Regions from separate parts of the Homo sapiens genome. Here region 1 is linked to region 2. Evidence: promoter capture Hi-C in human tissues and cell types (Jung and others, 2019). All regions are on one chromosome and are shown on one strand. Each heading gives the region's core, a stretch centred on a gene start or on the middle of the fragment in contact. The rest is flanking DNA. Distances are from core to core; before and after follow the strand shown.

The links. The method cuts DNA at HindIII sites, captures the fragments that hold promoters and counts their contacts. A contact is called where the count stands out against the background at its distance.
Region 1: a contact is called between a fragment that was not itself captured here and the fragment with the promoter of MRPS6 in region 2, in 1 of the 25 tissues and cell types used here (lymphoblastoid cells).

What each region holds. Positions count from the first base shown.
Region 1 is chr21:35,341,494-35,345,849 of GRCh38, reverse strand. No RefSeq gene overlaps it. Among named protein-coding and RNA genes, the nearest start is that of RUNX1, 290 kb to the right of the region's middle. The HindIII fragment of the contact is 7,034 bases long and covers 1-4,356 here.
Region 2 is chr21:34,071,273-34,075,516 of GRCh38, reverse strand. MRPS6 (mitochondrial ribosomal protein S6) reads right to left here and starts at 1,939. Exons shown (of 3, transcript NM_032476.4): 1 at 1,772-1,939. The coding sequence starts at 1,816. It overlaps SLC5A3 (solute carrier family 5 member 3), which reads right to left and starts at 1,939. Exons shown (of 2, transcript NM_006933.7): 1 at 1,772-1,939. RefSeq lists silencers at 1,282-1,681, 1,972-2,491 and an enhancer at 1,078-2,028. The HindIII fragment of the contact is 15,607 bases long and covers 1-4,244 here.

The DNA.
Region 1 (4,356 bases), core at 1,756-4,255, 1.3 Mb before region 2:
TTCAGGCCATTTCACCTCCAAGCACCTTACCCTTTGTGATACTGAGGTCTGCCATCAAGATTCTGTCACCCAGCCCAGCCTCCCCCATCAATGCTCAGACTTGGACCCTGGAAGGCTCTGCTTTCCCACCCTCCTCCTCGTTCACTGATGCCTCAATCAGCTTCAAGCGACGGGAAAATGGCAAAGGACCAGCCACTCATTTTAGGACTGCCGCTCCATACAGGATTTGGGATGCAACCTCCATACCTAGCAGATAATTGGGCTGCGGCCACCTACGGAGTCATTTCACCAGTGACAACTGCCCACTGTGTGACTACCAGTGATATGATTCATCTGGTTTTAAATCTTCTGCTGAGGTCTCCCGCCCCTTGCCAGATCACAGAAGTGGGTTCTTGGCAAGGACTCAGTTACAGCAGAGGAGCCAGTGCCCACAGCCCCAAGCGGCCCTGGTTCATGGGTCTTCTGCGGGGTTCCATGCTCTCCTGTGTCTCTTCTTCATGTTGTTACAATGTCACCAAAGAGTTTGTCCAAGGTAACCTTAAAGAAACTGTAATTTCTTGTCGTGAAAAGAGCACTGGGCAAGAAGTTAAGGGATCAGAGTTCTGGAGAGCAGGAATCATAAGCCTTGCCCTTGGACTTGCCTTACAGAGTTGCCGTGAGCAACGAACAGGTGATTAACATGAGGACGGGCTCTTTGCAGGTGATGGACAGGATTACAGCAAAGCTATGCTGCCTCTCACTTGAGGAGATAATTCCAGTGAGGGGCCAGAAGTTTTCATTTCTTTTCTCATTTATTCAACACTTAGTAAATAGTTTTCCGATGCTTATGGCAAGCAGAATTTCAATACGGCTCCCACGATTTCTGCCTGCTGGTGTGTGGCCCAGCACATATCTAGCCGCTCCTGTCAAGGGATTCTGTAGATGTAATTCAGGTCTCAGATCAGCTGCTGGGATCTTCCTCATGAGAGAGATTCACAGCGTGACAGACATTCAACATGAGGGAGACTTCTTGATTGCTTGTTTTAGAAATGGAGGGGGCTGTGTAGTAAGGAATGTGGGTGGCCTCTACAGGCTGAGGGTGGCCCACAGCGGACAACAAGAAAGGCAGTGGGAATGTCCGTCCTACAGCCTCAAAGAAATGAATTCTGACAACACCCTGAATAAGTGTGAAAACAGATTTTCCCCCAGTCTCCAGAGGAAAACCCAGTTGGCTAACACCTTAATGTCAGCCTCCTGAGACACTATGGAGAACCCAGTCACAGACTTCTAATCTACAGAGCTGTGAACAGATAAAGGGATTGTTTAAAGCTGCTGAGTGTGTGGAAGCGTGCTACAGAGCAATAGAAAACTAGCAAAATGCTTCTAAAGGCAAGAGCCATGATACCTAGAGTCTTGCATCTTCCTAGAGTTGTGAACACAGGGGCCTTGTAGGTTCTCAAATAATAATGAATCAGGCGAAGGCATTACATGGGTTTCCCAAAGCAGGTACAGGTTTAGGCTTCTCTGATTCCCTGTTATATCATCACACCTCTCTCAAGGCTTATAGAAGGTACTGGTGACAGGGCTTGATGTTTTCAAGCGTCTTTTTGGCTGTGCAGAATCCAATGGAGGCACTCAGGGGCGCTTTGGTCCCTGAACTTGAACTGCTTGTGAATTGCCCTGGTCAGCTGGCCATCAGTGCTAGAACATGAACTTGATTTCTAATCTAATGAGCTTCCTGCTTGTCTGCACTTTCTTCCTATTGACTTCTTAGTTCTATGAAGTTCAGCCATCAGGGGTGTAGGTTTATATGTCTGTGTTTGTTTTCTTTGAGCAAACATATTTTCTTTCTTTTCTCCTTAGGCTATTGGGTTATGTTTTTCCCCAGTCTACATAGTATCAGAAATTATAGTTAGGGCTATTATTATTCTGCTACTCTATTTTTATACAACTTTATAAGACTTTTTTTCTTCTTTTTTAATAAGTGCGGTTACATGAAAGCATCTGAGTAAACTTACTTTAATTTCCTCTCATCGTTACGGTCCTCTTGAACATTTTCTCTTGTTTCTTGCCATTCCTCACTTGCTGTGTTCACTTTATTGATTTATTAAAGTATTCCTTGAGTGTTTTTGAACTTGAAAGGAAAAAGGAACCAGTTAAAGAATGGGGGATCCACCTGGTTCCTCTGAAACTTGAAACAAGTGAGGACGGTGCATTTAGAAGTTTTCCAGTTTGTCATATTGAAATTGCCTGAGCGACACCAACACCACTTGCCCTCCTTTTCTGACAACATGAGCACCTACCTCTTTGTCAGGCATGCTGGCTAGGACATAAGATCCTCAGTTTCCCCACCTAAGAAAAGACGCAACAATTATGCCTGTCTCATAGTCGTATCAGTATTACACCTGTTTATTGTGATGGGGATCAGAAGATGCCACTCTAAACTATGCCACTTTGGCATAAAGATTATTTGGGGCTAAAGGCAGTTGAGAATCAGCAGGTGCAGGAAGAGTTCCTCAACCCACCATTAACAGCCTAAAGACAAGGCATACAGTTTTAGTTTCTCTTTGAGGAGGACCTCACCTCCTACACAAGGAGGGAAGAGTGACTCTTTTCATTGAAGAAAGGGAGTTGATGCCAACATGTGTTTGCACAAGCGACCTTACTAAAATAACCCTTATCTTCCCTGAGTCACTGGATTTCCTAGTCACTTCCCCACTATTTATCATACCTTGAGACCCAAACTCTTTTCCCTTTGTTGAACGGCTGTATAAGCCCCTGAGTCTGCTTCTTTGAGTTTCACTCTTTTTCTGGGAACTCTTGTGCATGTAAATATCAAGAAAAATTGTGTACCCTTCCCCCTGTTAATCTATCTTTTGTTAGTTTAATTCACAGGCTCTCAGTTACCAAACTTAAGAGAATAGAGGAAACGTTTTTTCTCCCTGATAATGGATTAAAAAAAAAAAATCTTAGCCCCATATCTGGCATATGACTGGATAAATGTTAGGTATTACATTATTACTTTTCCATCTCAATTCCTTCCAGTTTTTTCAGAAATGGACTACTCACCTGTCTTCTTCACTCAGCTTCATCTATCCTGCAAACCCTGCATTTCAAGGGGAAGCTTGGCCACCCCCAGTTCTGGAGGAACTGGTTTGTGCCTCTCTTGTCACTGATTGCATTTGCATAGCGCTTCACCTCAACACGGCTTAATCATATCTTTCTTACTGAACTACACATTTTTGAGGACAAGAAACCTGTCCAAAACATATATCTCCCCTTACATCTAACTCAGAAACTAACACGTAATAAGGAAACAAGTGGGGACTTCCTCTTTTACCTTCCTCTGTTCTAGTGTCTTACCTTCTTTTTGGAAATGTAACATATTCGTCATCTAAAATGAATTTCTGACTTGCCTTCTTCATCATTCACTTTTCAGAATTGAAATGGATACTTATTTTAGTTCCTGTTTTTTAGTGGAAAATTCCATTTTTGGTAAAAATCTTTTTCCTAATATTAAAGACCTTTCAGAATTTGAAAGCACACTTACCTATCAAATAGATACTTTTTTTCTTGCACATTATACACATCTCTCCTCCTTTTTTTGGCAGGTAGAGTCATCTGTTAGGGCATCTTCATCTCTGTTTTTTTCTTGGATTTTTCTAAATTATATATTTGTTCTATAATATCCAACCTAGTATTTGATAAAAATCAATCATATCGTATGCCTCTATTTTTTAAACATAGTTTAAAGTCTTGAATATTGAACAAGGTTTTTAATACTCTAAAGGGAAAATACAGTTTTCATGTTGGTACTTTTGTTTATTTCTTTTTTGGCTCTTAGGCAGAAATACGAGGTCGTGTACAAAGTAGAAATTCATACTTTGTCTGGTATAATCTACTTAAAATAAATCCCCCTTACTAAAGTTACCCAATACTTACTCTAAGAAAGAACAGAAAGACATAAGAAAAACATATCTTTTAATGATTAGGAAAACAGCAGATGAAATAATGATGCTCCAAAAATAACAGGTCTGAGTCCTTGAAACCTATAAATGTGACCTTACAATGTAAAAGCGACTTACAGATGTGATGAAGTTAATGATTTTGACATGAGGGATTTTCCTGGTGGGTATTAAATCCAAGCACAAGGGTCCTTATAAGAGAGAGACTAAGGGAGATCAGACACACGAAGAGACAGAGGCAGAGATTGGAGTGATGCAGCTACAAGCCAAGGACGCCAGAACCACAGAAGCTGGAAGAGGCAAGGAAGGGTTATCTCCTAGAGCCTTCAGAGAGAGTGCAGCCCTGCCCATACTTTGATTTTGGCCCAGTGAAACTGCTAAACTCCTGTCCTCATAACTGTCAGAAAATTAA
Region 2 (4,244 bases), core at 690-3,189:
AGGAAGGTTATTTATTATTTTAACCAAATTACGCTCTGTTGATCTGAACTAGAGTGAAAAATGGGTGCTCCACATCCAAAGGCTATGTTATTACAGGACATAAAAAAAAATGGTAAAAGAAATACACTTAATACTTGCAGCCATGTTAACCAAGATACTTGGCAACTATGGCAAAAACAAAGGGGAGGGCAAGTCTTCATTTCAAAGGTTTCAAAGGGTTACAGAATGAGCAAATATTATTGCCTACAGGTTGCCTCTTTCAGTGTCACCTGCTACCTCCCCAAGACAAGGAAAGTAAACAAAAGGAATTTCAGTAACGAATTTCCCAGGTTCCACATTCCCTAAAACACGTAAGTTGAAGGGAGGGCTTAAACAACTTCCACCTAATTAAAAATCTTCCCTTTTAATAATGCTTTGTTTTCACTGCTCCTATCCTTTCGGAGTTACATATGCTGGTAAGCAAGGAGGAGGGCCAAAAGGGATATTCAAGAGGCTGAACAGATACTATCTTAACTTCTTCCAAATCCATGAAGAACAAGCTGGGGGACACAATGGCATGCCTGGCCAGGCTGTCTGGACCTCATAGAGAGGCACTGGCGTCCCTTCCCAGTTAACAATATGCAAAGCACACTTCCTAACAATCTCCCGACGCTCCGTGATTGTTAGTTTATCAATTGAGCTTAAGTTCAACCAAACTTGGTAATACTCCTCGCAATTGACCTGGAGCCTAATTTCAAACGTAAAAATGCGTCCACTCCTCTAGCGCTGTAGGAAGCTGTGCTTACAAAGTTCGGACGTGGTACAATGATTTTTGTTTTATTACACCTGGTGGAGAAAAAAAAACATAACACCAAACTACGTTACCGAATTCCGAATTCACGGGAGAATGGGGATTTCGGCGACGACTTGAGGAGTACATGACCCAGGACAGAGGACGAAGTGAGCTGCCTCCGGGCCGCGGGCCCCTGTCCTTGGCCACGCCGTCACCTGAAAGGGGCCGCTGGTTCGCTTAGCATCCCTCCAAACCTGAAATCCCCTACCTCAAGATCAATCAAAAGCAGGGGGAAGAAAGTGTCTTCTGGAGGCGCAAGAAAGGCCACAACTTGGATGAATGAAACTGGGCTAAGGGCACCCGGAGCGGGATTTTCGCTGAAGTCAGAAAAAGAAAAGTCAAAAGATTTTTTTTTAACATGAGAGCGATTGCAAGAGACTGGAATACAGACAACGGCACAAACAAGCTTTGGAGGAACGCTTTATTGGGCGCGGACGTTCCGGGCGGCCGGCGGGCGCTAGAGCGGAGGCGGTCGGCGGCAGCCGGCGGGCGGCGGAGCGGGACGGACCAGGCGGCGGCGGCGGGGCCGGCGACGAGGCAGCTTCACGACTGGCGGGGACGGGCCGGAGTCGGGCTGGGCGCCCGCGCGTGTCCTCCCGCGGACCTTCCACTGGACTCCCGCGGGCCGGCGCCGGGATCGGGGTCGGGGCCCGCTCGGTCCGCCCCGCCCCCCGCCCGGCGGGCCGCTTGCGAGGCACACCCTCCCGGACCGCGCACACGCGCAGGCACACCCCCGCCTCCCGCGCGCACGCGGCCGGGCCCGGCCGGCCCACGCGCGCCCCCTTCCCGCGGACGCCCGCCGCCCGCCCGCCGCCCCGGCCTCCTCCGAGGAGTGCAGGAAGGCCCGGGGTCCCGCGGCCAGGGCGCGCGGGGGACGGCGGCCTAGCGGCAGCGGGGGCGCCCGCGCGGGAAGACCGGCTCTGAGGGAAGGTCACTTACCCGCTGCATGGCTTTCAGGATTAAAGCCAGCTCGTAGCGGGGCATGCCTGGAGGATCGGCGAGTGCGGCTCGGAAGCCAGCCGGTTCCCGGGACGCGAAGGGGCGGGACGGCGGGGACAGTGGGGACCTAGAAACTGCTGCGCCGGACGGCTCCCAGGCGGCGAAAGCACGGTCCGAGAGCGCGAGCCCGGGCTTAAAGGCGCTGGCAGCTGCGCAGACGCCGCGCCACGCCCCCTCGGCGCGCCCCGCCCCGCCCGCGCGCCTTGCCGCCGCCCCGCCCCCTCTCCGCCCGCGGGCGGCCGCCACGCCCCCTCCGCAGCCCCGCACCCGCCGCACCGCCCCCGCCCCGACCCCAGCCCAGCCCGCCGGCCGCGGCTAGGGGCGGTGCTGCAGACGCGGCCCAGAGCGGCTCGCGGCGGCCGCACGCCCCCTCGCGACCCTGCCTGCCCCTACCCCGCCTCCTGCCATGCCTGCTACCTAGCTCTCGAACCGGCTGGAACTTTCCATGCCTTCCTTCTCCTCCCGGGCGGCGGGCGAGTGAGTGCCCGCCAGTGCGCGTGCGCTGCGGTGCGGTCTCGTCCGTGCGCGTGCCCCTCGCCCGCGACTCCCCGGAGCTAGGGACCTTCGCGGCGCAAGGCGGGGTCGCGGCCGGCCCGGGGGCTGTGCGGCCAACGGCTGCTCGCAGGGGTTCTGGAACATTCCCGCCCGGGGTCGGTAGGGGGGTGCAGCTCTCGCCCCCAGCCACAACTCTCAGGTCTGACGCGGCTGACCAGGCCCCCTACCCGGCGAGGAGCGCGCTGGCACAGGCCGTGGGCCGCGGCGCGCGGGCTCGGGTCTGACTCAGTCCCTTGGCACTGCGTGACCTTGGGCCTGCTGCCTGTGCCGAAAGTGGGGACCCGAGTGAGTTACTGCACGTTAACCTCCGAGGACGGTGCCTGGTACACACAGGCGCGATACGGGCATTTGTGGTGTGCCCCTGACCTGCCCCCACGTGTTTCAGCGGAGGGCAGGCGAACACCTTAACTCTATCTCATTTCTTTAAATGTTTCCTCCGCTTTCACTTAAAGGCTAGGCTGAGTGCCTGGGAGACCCTTTAGCAACTGTCTAAGGTGGGCAGGGGCATACGTTCTGCCCTTGCCATCCCTTTACACCCACATGGTTCTCCGCCCTCCAGCCAGGGGCTCTGCAAGTGCAGTTTTCTCCAGCGCCCTTCCTTAGAGGTTGAGTACCCTGCAGCTGAGGCCTCTGCCCCTTGTTTGCCCCATTAAAAGCTCTGTACGTGGAGTGTTTGTCAACTTAAAGTGCTTTAACGTTAATAGGTAAAGTTTAGTGAACACTTACTCTGCATCAGGCCCCATGCCAAGGCTGGTGGATGTGTCTCCTAAAATTCTCACAACAGCCCTGAGGTGACAAAGATTCTTTGCTTGGCCAAACTTTAGTCAGGCTTCTGAATCTCATGCTAGGCCCATCTGTGCACTTCCTTGTAAAATCCAGTTCTAGCACAGAACCCCCATCCCCTCATAGCAGATCAGGTTCCTCATCTTCCTCTATCCCCCAGTCATGTCTTTTCACCCTGGCCTGAGTTCTACAAGAATCCTTTAGATCGGTTGAGCCAGAATCCCTCTTCCCCCGATGGTTACTCTTAGTGATTTTACATGGCCATAAATTTCTACTTGCCGACGCTGCATTCAGAATTGGAGCCCACTCTCTCTCCCCGGGTTTCCCTGATCCCTGTACCCATCGCGTTGGTCCTGAATAAAGTCTTTCTTACCATGCTTTAGTAAGCATCACTGAGTAATTTTTTTAAACAGAGGCAAGCACTGTTAACCCCATATTAGGGATTAGGAAATGTAGGCACAAAAAGTTTTGTAACTAGTCCAAGGTCATACAGTAATAGAAACAAAGTACTTTTAGCCGCCCCTCTACCCTTCTGACCTCCGGTTCTCCTACCACACAGATGAAGATGCTGATTGTTATTCAGTGGATTAACCGTGTAGTCCACGTAAGCCAAGATTAGAGTACCTTTGTCACCTTACCCAGAGGTTACCATTTCACATCCCATGCGTCTATTTGTGACATATGGGAGGTAGGAGATGGAGATGAACCCAAGTTTTTCTGAGATAGCTGGATTTTAACATTTTCTATTTTTAGACTTGTCTACAACCCATACCTGTGTGAAGCCACACAGGTAATCCAAATTGCCTGGCTAAGTGTCAATTAACTTCATGTTTGGTTTAAATAAGTAGCGTACTATAAATAACAGAAGGAAACAAGGAATTTCTGGACCTTCAGAAGTGAGTTACAGGCTGGGTGCAGTGGCCCACGCCCGTAATCCCAATACTTTGGGAGGCTGAGGCGGGTGGATCACCTAAGGTCAGGAGTTTGAGACCAGCCTGGGCAACATCGTGAAATCCTGTCTCTAATAAAAATACAAAAATCAGCTGGGTGCGGTGGCACTTGCCTGTAGTCCCGG